Linked DNA regions of Homo sapiens: region 1 is linked to region 2. The links are contacts of gene promoters, found by promoter capture Hi-C in blood cells and fetal thymus (Javierre and others, 2016). All regions are on one chromosome and are shown on one strand. Each heading gives the region's core, a stretch centred on a gene start or on the middle of the fragment in contact. The rest is flanking DNA. Distances are from core to core; before and after follow the strand shown.

Evidence for each region. Contacts are between HindIII fragments. The CHiCAGO score rates a contact against its expected background, and 5 or more counts as called.
Region 1: a contact is called between a fragment that was not itself captured here and the fragment with the promoter of BPIFC in region 2, in 3 of 17 cell types (M1 macrophages, M2 macrophages and total CD8 T cells). The highest score is 6.5, in M1 macrophages.

What each region holds. Positions count from the first base shown.
Region 1 is chr22:32,388,294-32,395,853 of GRCh38, forward strand. RTCB (RNA 2',3'-cyclic phosphate and 5'-OH ligase) reads right to left here. Exons shown (of 12, transcript NM_014306.5): 9 at 6,733-6,921; 10 at 5,599-5,709; 11 at 3,947-4,066. Among named protein-coding and RNA genes, the nearest start is that of RTCB, 20 kb to the right of the region's middle. RefSeq lists a silencer at 6,370-6,567. The HindIII fragment of the contact is 4,798 bases long and covers 3,687-7,560 here.
Region 2 is chr22:32,458,331-32,466,103 of GRCh38, forward strand. BPIFC (BPI fold containing family C) reads right to left here and starts at 6,116. Exons shown (of 17, transcript NM_174932.3): 1 at 6,044-6,116; 2 at 3,244-3,331. The HindIII fragment of the contact is 5,490 bases long and covers 5,841-7,773 here.

The DNA.
Region 1 (7,560 bases), core at 4,836-7,335, 70 kb before region 2:
CTTTTTTTTTTTCTGTATTTTTCAAAATGTCTTTAAAGAACATGTATTACTTGTATAACTAGGAAATGTAGTAAATGTAAGTAAATAAAACACACACCAGAACCTGATTGGAAGAAACGGCACCCAACCATCATATGTTAGTGATAATTATCTCTTGATGGTAGAATTACTGGCAATTTTAATTTTCTTCCTTTATATATTTCTGCAGTTATCAAAATTTCTGGAATGAACATGTAGTACCTTCACAGTAAGTTATAAAATTCATATATGTATAAAACAAAGTAAAACTGTGTGCACATGTATATGTGGGTATCTATGTGTACCTACACTCACAGACAATTTCTGTGACTTTCCAGCAACATTCCCACCATTCCATCCTACCCACACAGCCTTGCCACCATTAGCACTAATCTCATCACACACTCACTTTATCTTCATTCCTGTCAATACAAGCTTAGGCCATCCATGCTGATTCCCGTACGGTTCTGTACATAATATCCTTTTCTATCCCATCTCCCATTCCCTTCCAGTTTCTGAAACTTTCCCACTGTGGCCTCTGGAACTCCTTCCAGAAGGAGCAAAATCCCCTCCCTCCCTTCTTCTTTGAATGTTCCCTTCACCTTCTTGTTTTACTGAAACACGGATCTTTCCCGAGGATACCACTTTCATCTCCAACTTTCTGAATGGTGACTGCTGTTTTCCCCAAATCAGGTCATGCCATTGGTCCCAGAAGTGGGACAGGTGTGCTCCTGGCTTTCATGGTTGTTTCTATTCTCCCGTTCTCCCTAGGCACTCCTAGTTTTGAATCTTGCAGTCATTACATCGTACCACAAACTACCTTTGGCTGTAGTTATCTGTGGGAGCCTGAATCACTCCCCAGTACTACTTGGCGATTTCTAGCTCCTGGCAATCAGATGAAATTCCACTGGGCCAATGACTGTCTCTCCCCTAGATGAATATTTCATACCTTTTCTCAGATCCCACTCTCACTTGCTGACCTTACTATGTAATACACTGAAAAAAATAGAAGCAGCCAGAATATTCATAAACATGCTAACTTTATCTTCCCCACATATCTGTATCTATACCTTCTCTCCTTTTATTTTTTTACTCTGTCACCCAAGGTTGAGTCCAGTGGCACAATCATAGCTCACTGAGACTACAGGCATGTGCCACTGTGCCTAATTTTTTTTATTTTTGTAGAGATGGGGTCTTGCTTTGTAGCTCAGGCTGGTCTCAAACTCCTGGCTTTAAGCGATACTCTCACCTCAGCCTCCCGAAAGTGCTGGGATTACAGGTGTGAGCCACTGTGCTCAGCTTCTTCTCTCCTTTTATAAAGGATGAATTATCTGTGCTCCTAGCAAAGACCAACCCCATCCACTTGTACATCAGACTCTATCTCCTCTCATCTATTCAAGGACACTTCTCCAGCAATTTCCTCCCTCTTTTCTGCATCATTAATTTCTCTTGTAGATTCTTCTCATCAACATGCAAACACATTTGTCAGATCACGTCACTATTCTGCTCAAAATCCTCCAAGGTTTTTTCATTTTAATCAGAGTAAAAGCAAAAGTCCAAATGCTCTGGCGCCCCCTACCTCTCTGACCTCATCTCCCTCTGGCTTGCTCTTGTCATGCCTGGCCTCCTTGCTGTTTCTTGAACACTCCTTCATAACCTCAGCTCACAGATTTTGCGCTTGCTGTTCTCTCTGCCTCGAAAGCTCACCTCCAGATGCCCAGGTAGCCTGTTTCCTCTCTCTCTTCAGGTCTTTGCTCTACTGTCACCTCACTGAAGTCTTCTCCGACCACCTGCTTAAAACTGTACCCCTTCCCACCTTTCCTTACCACCTTTCCCTGCTTTTTATTTCATAGAACTTGCATGGTCATTAACACACTGTATGTTTTATTATTTGGAAAGCTCCACAACGAAGGGACTCGTGTTTCTTTTGTTCACTGCAGTATCTCTAGCATATAGAACAGTACCTAACTATAGCGGATGGTTAGTACGTGTTAGCTGAGTAAGTGAATCAAATAATCACGTGTTGCAGGTGAAAAAACAAAACAAAACCAAAAAACCAAAAATCCAAATTTTAACTGTAATTATTTCTGGCTGATTGAATTCTAAATGTTTTCTGTTTTCTCCTTTGTATTTTCCAAATCCTTTTTTTTTTTTTGAGATGGAGTGTTGCTCTGTCGCCCAGGCTGGAGTGCAGTAGCGCGATCTCGGCTCACTGCAAGCTCCGCCTCCCGCGTTCACGCCGTTCTCCTGCCTCAGCCTCCCGAGTAGCTAGAGCTACAGGCGCCCGCCACCACGCCCGGCTAATTTTTTGTATTTTTAGTAGAGATGGGGTTTCACCGTGTTAGCCAGGATGGTCTTGATCTCCTCACCTTGTGATCCACCCGCCTCAGCCTCCCAAAATGCTGGGATTACAGGCCTGAGCCACTGCACCTGGCCAGTATATTCCAAATCTTTTAAATTAACCATGTATTCTTAAGATCAGGGGAAAAATGAATTGTTATTAAAAAAAATAAGTCTTTGTCATACTCTGACTCAGTAATTCCACTTTTTTTCCTTATTTTTTTTTAGAGATAGGGTCTTGCTTTGCACCAAGTCTGGACAATCACATAGCTTACTGTAACCTCAAGGTCCTGGGCTCAAGCAATCCTCCAGCTTCAGTCTCCTGAGTTGCTAGGACTACACCTGGCTAATCTTTGGCCAAACTAATCTTGAACTCCTGGCCTCAAGAGATCTTCCTGCATTGGCCTCCCAAAGTACTGGGATTATAGGCATGAGCCACCATGTAACTCCACTTTTGAGACTTTGTTCTAATTACTATAACAACTGGAAAAAACCTTCATGCATGAAGACACTCATTACAATTTAATTTATAGTAGCAAAAATTTGGAAGCTACTTAAATGTCCACTACAGGCAGAAAGTAAGGTACTCAGCTGGTGGAATATTCAGCAATGATTTTAAAAAGTGACACAAACAATTTTATAATAATGTGCAAAATTTTAAAAATAACTACAGAATGTTTCTTAACTATAATTAAGACTAGCTTTAAAAAAAGCATTTAGGAAAAAACTATGACAATAAGTAAATTTTTTTTTTTTTTTTTTGAGACGGAGTCTTACTTTGTCATCTAGGCTGGAGTGCAGTGGCATGATCTTGGCTCACTGCAACCTCTGCCTCCCGGATTCAAGTGATTTTCCTGTCTCGGCCTCCTGAGTAGCTGCGATTATGGGTGTCCACCACCATGCCCAGCTAATTTTTGTATTTTTAGTAGGGGTTTCACCATGTTGATCAGGCTGGTCTCAAACTCCTGACCTCATGTGATCTGCCCACCTCGGCCTCCCAAAATGCTGTGATTACAGGCGTGAGCCACCACGCCCGGCCGACAATAATAAGTATTCTAAAAGATAAGGTAATAACTGTGTCAGGGCATTGAGTTTTTGGATGACTGTTTTTCTTTTCTCTTAAATCATTAAGGAATTATATTGCTTTTAATTTAAATATGTACATATATGTAAACATATATACAGAATTTAAACAAAATCTGTTCTCCTGTGAATCAAATAAAACTTTCTCCAAACATTTATGCCTTCCTTTTTCAAATTTGCTTTCAAATTGAAACCTAAGTATACAATTGTGCAAAAACAAGAGTCAGCTCAAACTACTCTTGAAAAGCTTAATATGTAGATGGAGACTATAAATGAACAGTAAAAATCATTCTTAAGGACTTGGCTCGTAATTTTAACCAAAAGAAATGAAAACATAAAACTGAAATAAGCTAATCCAAGGAAGATAAGCCAAAATTGAGGTCATAAAAAAAAATAACCCAAACAATTTCTGTTAGTAACACCCTAAATTGCTGTCTCTGTAGACTGGAACAAATTACAAATGGGGAACAATAAATATTCATGTATTTATCAAAATTTCACTTACCTCTTCCATAACCAGTTTGGGTGAGGCAACACGGATCGCAATTCCCATATCTGCCAATTTGTCTAAGACATCCTGGAAATCTAAATTACGTCGAGATTTTGCTCGGGACAATGCACGGCCCTAGAATGGGAAAGGAATGAACTTTACTTTAAACCCTAAGATGATAAGCCCTTTCCCTGATTTTCTCTCACACTAAAAAGGAGCTTAAAAAAACATCTTTTTTACTTTATCGAATTGGTAACAGGCCTTTTAAACCTCATCATATCCTTTTAGATTTTGGACCGGAGAATTCTTTGTTGGGAGGCTGTCCTATGCAGGGTATTCAGCAGCGCAGCGCAGTGTATTCAGCAGCATCCCTCGCCTCTAAGACCCACTAAATGCCAATAGCAACTCCCACTAAACCATGACAATAAAAAAAGCCTCCAGAAATTGTCAATGTCCCCATGGCGGTAGGGGGATCTCCTTTGTTGAAAACTACTGGGTTAAAATTAGGAGTTGGGAGGCAGCTAGAAATGAGAAACAATCAGAAAAAAAAGTAGGATTAAATACATTTGTGAAGGTCTGTCCTAGGAGAAGGTACTCTAGACAGTTTCTCTTTCCCATTTCAACACTGGCTCAACACTCTGGATGGCTTAGAAAAGGGGCCGGCAAACTACGGTGTATGGGCCAAATATGGCCCACCACCTGCTTTTTAAAATAAACTATTTTGTTTTTTGAGAAAGGGTCTCCCTCTGTCACCCAGACTGGAGTGAAGTGACATAATCATAGCTCACTGCAGCCTTAATCTCCTGGGCTCAAGCAATCCTCCTGCCTTAGCCTCCTGAGTAGCTATGACTACAGGTGTGCCACCACACCCGGCTAATTTAAAAAGTTTTTGTGGAGACGGTGTCTTGCTAATGTTGCCCAGTCTAGTCTTGAATTCCCGGCTTCAAGTGCTCCTCCTGCCCTGGCCTCCCAAAGTGCTGTAATTACAAGTGTGAGCAACCATGCCTGGCCTAAAATAGTTCTATTAGAACACAGCATTGCCCATTTACACAGTACTTAAGGTTGCTTCTGCACTGAAATGGCATAGCTGAATAGCTGGTACACAGACCATCTGGTCCCAAAAGCCTAAAATATTTACGGTCTGGCCCTTTATGGGAAGAGTTTCCTGACCCCTGGGCTTAGAAGATGAGAGGCAGTGTTTTGAAATGGGTGTGTGTGTAGACTGTACATGGGCTCTAATTTGCAAATAGGGCCTATCCTTCCAATCTTGCGTGGACCTACACAATAGGAAGGGGCAAATTAAACAAAGGAGCAGGTCCAGTCAGTCGCTGAGATCAACTGTGATATTTGCATCAGTTAAAGTTCTATCACTTATAAACCAGACAGTAAGCTCAGCTAGTGTGACAATTTCCCAGTCTGGATTTTCTGGACTTGCAGAGATAAGAAACGGTCCCTAACCCTACCAGATCTCACTGAGGCAGAGATACTAGGTGACCCCAGTCAGTTCACTAAATAGTATACATTATGGGGAACAATTTGAAGTACAAGACATGATAGGCCCAAGTCTCAACTCTGTTAATGTTCAATCAGCTACATTTACCAGTCAAAATGGAAAACCATAGCTAAACTGAAGAGAGCATTTCTAAGGAAGTTTCTGTTTTCCTTACCGCTCCATGACAGGTTGTTCCAAAGGTCTCAGTCATGCCCTGTTCAGTGCCAGTAAGAACATAACTACAGGTTCCCATGGTGCCACCAATGAGCACTGGCTGTCCAGTGAGCTGAGGATGCACATAAATCAAACATGTTAAAATTCAGAAAAACATAGGCTTTTTATGCATAAAATTTAAATTTTCTCTTGCACTGTAGGATTGTAGGAGAAACCCAGACTTCTTTTTTTTTTTTTTGAGATGGGAGTCTTGCTCTGTCGCCCAGGCTGGAGTGCAGTGGCGGGATCTCGGCTCACTGCAAGCTCCGCCTCCTGGGTTCACGCCATTCTCTTGCCTCAGCCTCCCGAGTTGCTGGGACCACAGGCGCCTGCTGCCATGCCCAGCTAATTTTTTGTATTTTTAGTAGAGGCGGAGTTTCACCATGTTAGCCAGGATGGTCTCGATCTCCCGAACTCGTGATTTGCCCGCCTTGGCCTCCGAAAGTGCTGGGATTACAGGCGTAAGCCACCACACCCGGCCGGAGAAACCCAGACTTCTAAACGCGCGGCTAGTAAACTATATTAAGATAGTACTTTGATTCTTTGATAAATCGGAGGGGAAGGAAGAGGACGAGAGTGAAAATCTGAGGACCAGTAAAAATGCAGAAGAGTCAAAATAAGAGCAAAGCAAAATCCAAAAGTGTAGAGAAGTGTTGCTAGAACCACCATCCTGAGCAAGGTGCTTGTCTTCTCTGTTTTGGGTTTCTCATCTGTAAAAGGAGCAAGCAGACTATGGGGTCTTTCGAACTCCACCACAGCCAGACACCAAGAGGACAGGAGGAATGAAACAGACTGAGTTTACTCTGTCTTCTGTAACTGAGTTACTCCTGTCTTCCACTAATTCAAAGGCCTCAATTCACGGTAGTGGAGTAAAATACACTTCCTGCAGCACTTGCTATAGCACACGGCACCACCGCAAGCACAAATGATGGGGGAAGGAGTTACTGCTTCAGAGAAGATTGGGAATCACTGTTCTCATGAGTGACAGAGTATTTTCTTTTCACAATTGCTGCTTTTCGTTTTAAATGTAATTCACATTTGCAACAATCTAAATCGTGCCCCCACTGCTTAAAACTACAAACGTAGAGCTACGTACTTGGTAATCAACAGCAATGAGGGGATGGTGAGGAGGGAAAGCGCGGGTGGATCCCTTCCTGTGTACTAACAGTGTCCGTTCCTTTCCGTCCACCACATGCTGCTCCACTTTGGCAATGTTGTGAGAAACATCATAGATCACATGTAGGTCCAAGTCATCAGGGGTTGTGTTGAAGACCTTGGCGAAAGCCTAGGAGAAAACACAGAAGATAAAAGCAGCCAGAACTTCAGGACTTATGTTCAGCTCTTCGTGACTCATCTCACTGGTTTCAGGTAGTCTGTTCTGAAGGGAGTAAAAGATTTAAAAGTTCAAAAGTAGCCGTAAGATTATCTTCACGTAAAGGACAAAAGCTGTCCTTTAGACCACACAGGAAATGCCACCACATCATTTTCATCTTTAGTTGAAAAGCTGCTGGGCAACTTTTGATCCCACCTTTCAAAATTGCTTCTTCTCAGCCTTCTGAATCTTAGTCAGTGGCACTTTTATTCTCTATGCTGTTCAAGACAAATTCTAGGAATAATTTTGATTCTCTGCTCTCATTTCTCATGCCTGATACTCTGATGATTTAGTTTAAGACAACACCAAAACCTTGGACACTTCTCTGGTATTTTGAAAGTTAACTATGTGAATTTCCAAAACCAAACACCATAGGCTTTGACTGGACTGCACGATGTTTTTTTCTTTTGGAGACAGGAGTCTCACTCTGTCACCCAGGCTGGAGTGCAGTGGCACGATCTCGGCTCACTGCAAGCTCCACTTTCCAGGTTCACACCATTCTGCTGCCTCAGCCTCCCGAGTAGCTGGGACTACATGCACCCGCCACGACGA
Region 2 (7,773 bases), core at 4,866-7,365:
CTCAAAGAACCCGGTCTTGCACTTCTTCAGATAACTCAAATGTCGTCTCAGCAAAGTCTTTCCTAGCCACTCAATGCAGAACATGGACACCTTCCCTGTGGCCCTGTTATTATGACTCCACCATTGCTTTATTTTCTCCAAAGCACTTATCATCATCTAGTGTAGTATCCAGTTACTGATGTGTGTATTGTCTATCTCCTCTGCTGGAATTTTTAGGCTTCATGGGGAAGGACTTCATCACTTCAGCACCTTGAATAGTGACTGGCACACAGCAGGCATTAGGGAACTACTGAATGGCAGATGGAATGAATGAATGAATGAAGTCTCTTTCACAAGCTGTGAATTGGGCCATGTGTGCCTTATGGGTTCTCCAGCACCTGGGGAAGCCCTTAATCTTAGTATACACCATCCCGTATTGTGACTGTCTTTTTACTTGTCTATCCCTTTGTCATGGGGATTGTGTCTTACTTCTATAACTCTGGAGTCCAGTACAATACCTGGCACATAGTAGGCACACAACAGATTTTTGATGAAATAAACATTCTCTGCAAAGAGTGGGACCACATCTTACTCACTGTTATATCACCCATACTTGGCATACATGAATGATTAACGTATGCTTGTTGAATTAATAGACCAAACAAATTAATGGCATCCCATTTTCTTGATAGATGAAGCACAGGTCCCAAAAGCAGCAGTAATTTGGGTTTCTTTTAATGAAAATCAAGTGAGTAATATATTCACAGGCCTTCTTTCTAGTTTGGAAGTTACAATCTGGGTGAGCTATCACTGCTGCACTTACACATGCAAAAGACTCACAGGTGGCAGGTACCACTGCGCTAACACACAAACATGAAACAAATCAAGGAAGGCCCAGGAAGGTGACCTTGTGGATGTGGTCAGAGAGGAAGAAGTAAGCCAGGTGTGGTGGCTCATACCTATAATACCAGCACTTTGGGAGGCCAAGGCAGGAGGACTGCTTGAGCCCAGGAGTTTGAGACCAGCCTGTGGAACATGGCAGGACCCCATCTCTACAAAAAATAAAAAATAAGGCTGGGCACGGTGGCTCATGCCTGTAATCCCAGCACTTTGGGAGGCCGAGGCGGGTGGATCACGAGGTCAGGAGATTGAGACCATCCTGGCTAACGTGGTGAAATCCCATCTCTACTAAAAATACAAAAAATTAGCTGGGTGTGGTGGCGGGCGCTTGTAGTCCCAGCTACTCGGGACGCTGAGGCAGGAGAATGGCATGAATCCGGGAGGCGGAGCTTGCAGTGAGCCGAGATCATGCCACTGCACTCCAGCCTGGGCGACAGAGTGAGACTCCATTTCCAAAAATAAAAAATAAAAATTAAAAAAAAAACTAAAAAATTAGCTGAGGATGGTGGTACACACCTGTAATCCCAGCAACTTGGGAGGCTGAGATGGGAGAATTGCTTGAGCCTGGGAGGTGGAGGCTGCAGTGAGCTGTGATCATGCCACTGCACTCCAGCTTGGGCAACGGAGCAAGATCCTGTCTCAAAATAAAATAAAATAAAATAAAAAAAGAGGAAACTGTGAGAGCCATGTGTTTAGATAGAGGGAGGGGTCAGGCCAGGTGGTCAGGTAAGGATTCAGAGATGAGTAGGATTCAGAAGCAGCCTGGGTGAAGGAAAAGAGGTCACTGTAAGAGGTGGAGCCCTTGGCCGAAGTAGGTGAGAGGTTTGATTAAGGGGGGTGAGTAGGCTTTAAGGTGAGGCCATGGAGGTGGGAATGGGGCAATGTATATAAAGGGACTTCTAGAGAATTTGCTTGAAAAGAACAGAGCAGTCTGATTAGGGATGGAAGTGTCCAGGCAAGGCCACTGCTAGCCTATCTTGGGCTTTTGTGTGAAATGGGAAAAGGCGCCCCTCTGGAGAGATGCCAGCCTCTTGGCACAAAGTGGAGCCAGTGGAAAGCATTTTAGGAAAACCCCACACCAGTGTACGCAGCTGGGTGGGAGGTGGAAGGGCTATCCTATGTATCCATTGGGCTGGAATTTTGTCTAGTGCACAAACTCCCCAACTTACACAGGGGGCCTGTGCTCAGATTAGTGAATGCTTATGTGGGTATTTTGCTGGAGGCCAAAGGTTTAGAAATAAGGTCTTCACCTGTCTGTGGGTAAGTTCATCTTCAGGTCTGAGAAGGCTGGCTGGGTCAACCTGCTTACATCTCTCACCTGATCTCCTAGGAGCCCCCTCTATACCCCACCATCCAGCCAAACTGAACTACTGGTCCCTAAACACATGCCACGTTTTCTGCCTAATGCTATTGCCTATGTTTTTCCCCTCTGCCTATGCCTGCAGAAACCGTGCATATCCCTAAGGCCCATTTAAAGCACCATCTTCTTTCTAAAGCCATTTATGACTTCCCTGAGTTAATTTCATTTCCTTTTAACCCTTGATCAAAATACATATTTATTCATGCGTGTATGTTTCTTTTCTGGCTTATGATTTGCCTTCCCTACCAGAATATAAGTGCCTGAAGGCAGAGACTGCAACTGGTTTGGAGGTCCTAGGTCTGGCTCAGTGCCTGGGATAGAGTGAGTGACTGTTAAGTGTTGGTAGAATGAATCAATGGTAGAATGAATAAATGAAGGAATATCCCTTACCTTACTCTATCATGTATTACACTTCTTTACAGAGATGGTTAACAAAGTATTTGTGTACTAGTAAACTGCAGGCATCCATCGAAACAGATGTTGGCCACAGTCCTGGAGCAGGGGCCAGGAAGTTGAGTGCCAGATCATGGGGAGGACAGGGGATGTCTTACAGGAGGGGCCAGAGTAGTTGGGGGCACTGGGAATAGGAGGGGGACACTCAGAGTATTGGCTCCTTACCCTTAGCTATTAAGGCATTTTGGTATTTTACCACTGATATGGCCTTATGAATCCAGCATGATATTTCAGCCCTAAAGAGCTGGTTTGGGTTCTACAGGACAAGTTACAGAGGGAAACTGGGGAGCAGTGTTGGGAGCAGAGCTAAGAAAGGATGACTTGAGGGTGGTCAGGGTGCAGACAGCACTAAGGGAAGCACAGGGAAATGGGAGGGTTGAGAGCTGAGGGGAAGGGATTTGGGTAGGAGAGGAGGATCTCTGGCCAAGCAATGAGTGATCTGAAGGTTGGAGGAAATGTGGTGAGTGGGATAAGGGGGTGTAAAGCCCTCCATGTCCTGAGAGGCAGAGTGACAGTAACAGCATCTTAACACTCTGAATGGATGCATGTACCTCCTGCAGGAGCTAGATCCAGCTGATCTTCTGCTGTGCTGGGCCTTTCTTGATCCTTTAGTTGCCCTTGGAGGTTAGTCAAGGTGTCCTGGAAAGGGGGATAAGTAGAGATGAACTATGGGAGTGAGGAGAACACTTCTGGGACTCAGGTTAGTGGCTGCTGACCAACTGGTATAGGAGCATTTCCACATTTTAACATATGGCGAGGCCAAACTGAAAAGCAGTCTTGCTAATATCACTGCCGGCTAAAAATTGTAAATGGATGTGTTATGCCAAGACAGGCATTAGAGAGATTTTTGTTTTAAAAGAGCAAAAATAGGCCGGGCGTGGTGGCTCACGCCTATAATCCTGGCACCTTGGAAGGCCAAGGTGGGCGGATCATGAGGTCAAGAGATCAAGGCCATCCTGGCTAACATGGTGAAACTGTCTCTACTAAAAATACAAAAATTAACCAGGTGTGGTGGCGCACACCTGTAGTCCCAGCTATGTGGGAGGCTGAGGCAGGAGAATCACTTGAACCCAGGAGGCAGAGGTTGCAGTGAGCCAAGATTGTGCCACTGCACTCCAGTCTGGCGACAGAGCGAGACTCCATCTCAAAAAAAAAAAAAAAAAAAAAAGAAAAAAGAAAAAAAAGAAAAAAAAAAGAAAAATATTTTCATAGCAATGGAATGCAATGGGAAAGAATGTTAAGACCAAAATGTCTGTACCTATTAGACTGTGTGCAAATTAAGGCAGACATGATATCTCTCCCTGGCACATGGTAAGACCCAAATTAATATGTGCTAACTGATCAACTGACTGACTTAAAAGATTCCAGTCAACTAAGAAAGGTTCTACAAATGGTTAGAAAAAAAGGAAAAACCAAACTATCATATATAATATAGAGCTCTCCATTTCTATAGTGAAAAAAACATAATAAACCAGAGAAGAAATATTACTTGTGAATGGAATAACAACTAAAATAATAAATTTTTATTTCTTTACCCTTTACAAAACTCACAGTTCTTTGAAGTGGATGTTCTTATTATCTTACTCCCATTTTAGACACGTGGACATGGAGGCTTAGAGAATCTGATGACTCGTCCAAGATCCCACAGTAAGTAAGGCACCTGGGAACCCAACCTTGTTCTTCTGGTTCCTAATTCTAGTGTTGATGAATTTATTTTTATTGAATGACTCGATACATGCTAGGGTTTTCATTTTCATCTGGGAATTTTAAATAGGAGTTGCTTGACACCATTTTCCTTTTTGTTGTTGTTGTTTAAAAGTTACTCAATTTTTTTTATTACACTTTAAGTTCTAGGGTACATGTGCACAGAAAACCAAACACCATTTTCAAGGTGGAAAAATTCAATAAGCATCTAGAAACGTTCAAGCATCACAGTGCAAATCCCTTCTTATTTTCTTGGACACAACTGGAGTTTTAAATTCCCTGCCAGCAGTAAAACCTGTTTTCCCTTCTTGGTTAAAAAAAGTTTCTGAAGTGGTACACTTTGATGGAGATCCAGGAATCCAAAATTACAGGCAGGAAAACATATTTTTCCTCTAGAAATTTTATGAGTGAAAGAAATTACTGGGGTATGAAGGGGTGAATTGTACATAACTTTTCATTGAATTGTTCAGTTACGATGATAACTTATGGGCAGGGGAGGAAAGGAACCTTGTCAAGCAAGGTGATGACTACTAAAAGGTTAAGTAATTTGGCTGACAAGTGCAGGCAGGGCTAGTTGCCTGTTAAAAGGATCCAAGATCACTTAAAAACCCCACCAGCAAGTTATCTATTTTGTTGCTTCTGGGGAATTGCTTCTTTCCAAGATTCAAAATCTCAGTAGTCATTATTTTTCCATACAAATACACAGACAGAATAATACTCCTAAATTAAATGGTCCTTGTGTGAGTCATCCTGACAGCTAAGAAAATGCCAGTCCAATTTAGAAAACACCTGAAACTCACAGATGGTCCTACTACTACTGCTGCTTGGCAAGAGCTTTGACTGACTCTGGAAAAACCGATTAAGGGAGTAATGAATGAGTAAAATGTAGCCTTCAAAACAGAGGCGCAGGTTGAAAAATTAAGTTCAACAGGTTTAAAGAAGTCTAAACTAGAAGGGTATTCCGACATATTGGTTAAGACAAAATGACCGTACATAAGAAGTCTAAATCGACAGGTATGGAACGTGGGCAGAATATTTCAAGGGATCCACTCCTCACATCTAGTTTTATAGCAACATCTCTAATGACAAGGACCTTGAGAATTCATAGCATGTCTTTTCCCCAAAACTCTATGCCTAACACCAACAAGTTCAACAGTCCAGGCAAGTGGGTGGCTAGTTTTGCTCTGGCAGGATCTAGGTCACTGATGTGCTTTAAGACCTGCCTTGAAAGCACAGAGATTATAACAACTCCTTAGTCCTAACCATGCTGATTTTGAGAGACAAGATAGAATTTTCTGCCACTGTGCTGGGTTCCCCTCTGAAATGGAGGCAAAAATAAGTCCAGATCACTGAGCAACCCTCTTAACATTGTTCCATGATGCAAAACTAAGTAGGTGGTTTAAACCAACTCTTTTCTCTCTTATGGCTGTTTAGCTGTCACTAAAGCTTTTGCCTAAGAAGCCTCCAGGTGCGCATATGTGACATCACACAAACAAACAAACAAAGATACAGAAAAATCTAGGCAGACAATAATAATAACCCAGGATATATGACAGCTGCCTGTTCAAAGTGTCCTACCAAATCTGGGACATCTCCAGTTTGGAGATCATGGCTGGCAGAGACCTGAAGTTTGTTCATGAGTCTTACCTCAAGCAGAGGAAGTGTCCAAAGCTGGAGAGCACCTTCGATTCTCTCTGCCTTTGAAGCTGATGTGTTCTCCACCTTGCGCCTTAAACTCAGCTGCTAAAAAGCCAAGATAATTAAGTCTGACTCATCTCAGTGGTGAATTTTTTTAATGCCTCTTTCAAAATGTGATACATAATTGCTTCACTACAATTACCCAATGGCATGAATGAGCACTACAGTATCTACCTAGATAAACAGACAGTGCCACCTATGCAATAATTATCTTCCTGCAAAACACACACACACACACACACACACACACACACACACCACTTGTGAAATTGTGATGGCTACTTTACCAAAATGATTGAAAACGGTGTTAAACTGCATTGGAAGAGGAAGAATTTTCCTGTCTGGAATCATAAGCTGGTTCCTTCTGGTCAGGGTGCCTGCGGTGGATGGCTCTACTACTGCCCAGAATACCTTTGGGACTTGTGGTGGATCATCAGATTCAGTCTGAAAGCATGAGGCTTGACAATCGGGCTGACCTAGTTACCTTATCACTCAGGGTAGGACCTCAGTTGGCATCTCTCAGTGTCCGTCCGCTCCTTTTCAGAATGTTATTAATGACTTACTGTTCCAGCATTCCTTAAACCTAAGTTGGGTGGGTGGGTTCATCAACTATTATGCAACTTAACATTTTCAGATTCCAAACTCCAGCCCTACTCTCATCTCCAATAAATTCATTTTAGTTAATGTGTTTTATCTATTTTTATTTTTATTTATTTATTTTTTGAGATGGAGTCTCACTCTGTCACCCAGGCTGGAGTGCAGTGGAGCGATCTTGGCTCACTGCAACCTCCGCCCCCTGGGTTCAAACAATTCTCCTGCCTCAGCCTCCCTAGTAGCTGGGATTACAGGAGTGCGCTACCACGCCCAGCTAATTTTTTGTATTTTTAGTACAGACAGGGTTTCGCTGCATTGGCCAGGCTGGTCTCGAACTCCTGACCTCATGTGATTGATCCACCCGTGTTGGCTTCATAAGTGCTGGGATTACAGATGTGAGCCATCATACCCGGCCATTAATGTATTTTAGATGGCCAGGGATTTGATTGTATGAAGTTTTTTTTTTTGTTTTTTGGTTTTTTTTTTTTTGAGACAGTCTCACTGTCACCCAGGCTGGAGTGCAGTGGCATGATCTTGGCTCACTACAACCTCTGCCTCCAGGGTTTAAGCGATTCTTGTGCCTTAGCCCTCTGAGTAGCTGGAATTACAGGTGTGCACCACCAAACTTGGCTAATTTTTGTATTTTTAGTAGTGATGGGGTTTCACCATGTTGGCCAGGCTGGTCTTGAACTCTTGACCTCAAGTGATCCACCTGCCTTGGCCTCCCAAAGTCCTGGGATTACAGGCATGATCCACCGCACCCAGCCTGATTGCATGAAGTTCTTATGGCTTATCTACACTTTTCTGGGTAAGACCCGGTGACCAACTGTCCTGGTTTCCCAAGAATGCAGGATTTTCAGTACTAAAACCAGAACAGTCCTGGGAAAATCAGGATGATAAGTCAGTCTGAAAGGAACCACAGACGCTTTCACTTGGCATTGTCCATACTTCTCACAGCTTCTCAGGGGAGTTATACCTTGGGTTATACTTACTGATTTGAACTGAGTTTCCTTAAGGTAAAGTGGGGATAGAAATAGTAACTTCCTTGATTGGTTCTGGTGAAGAAAAACATAATAACACATGAG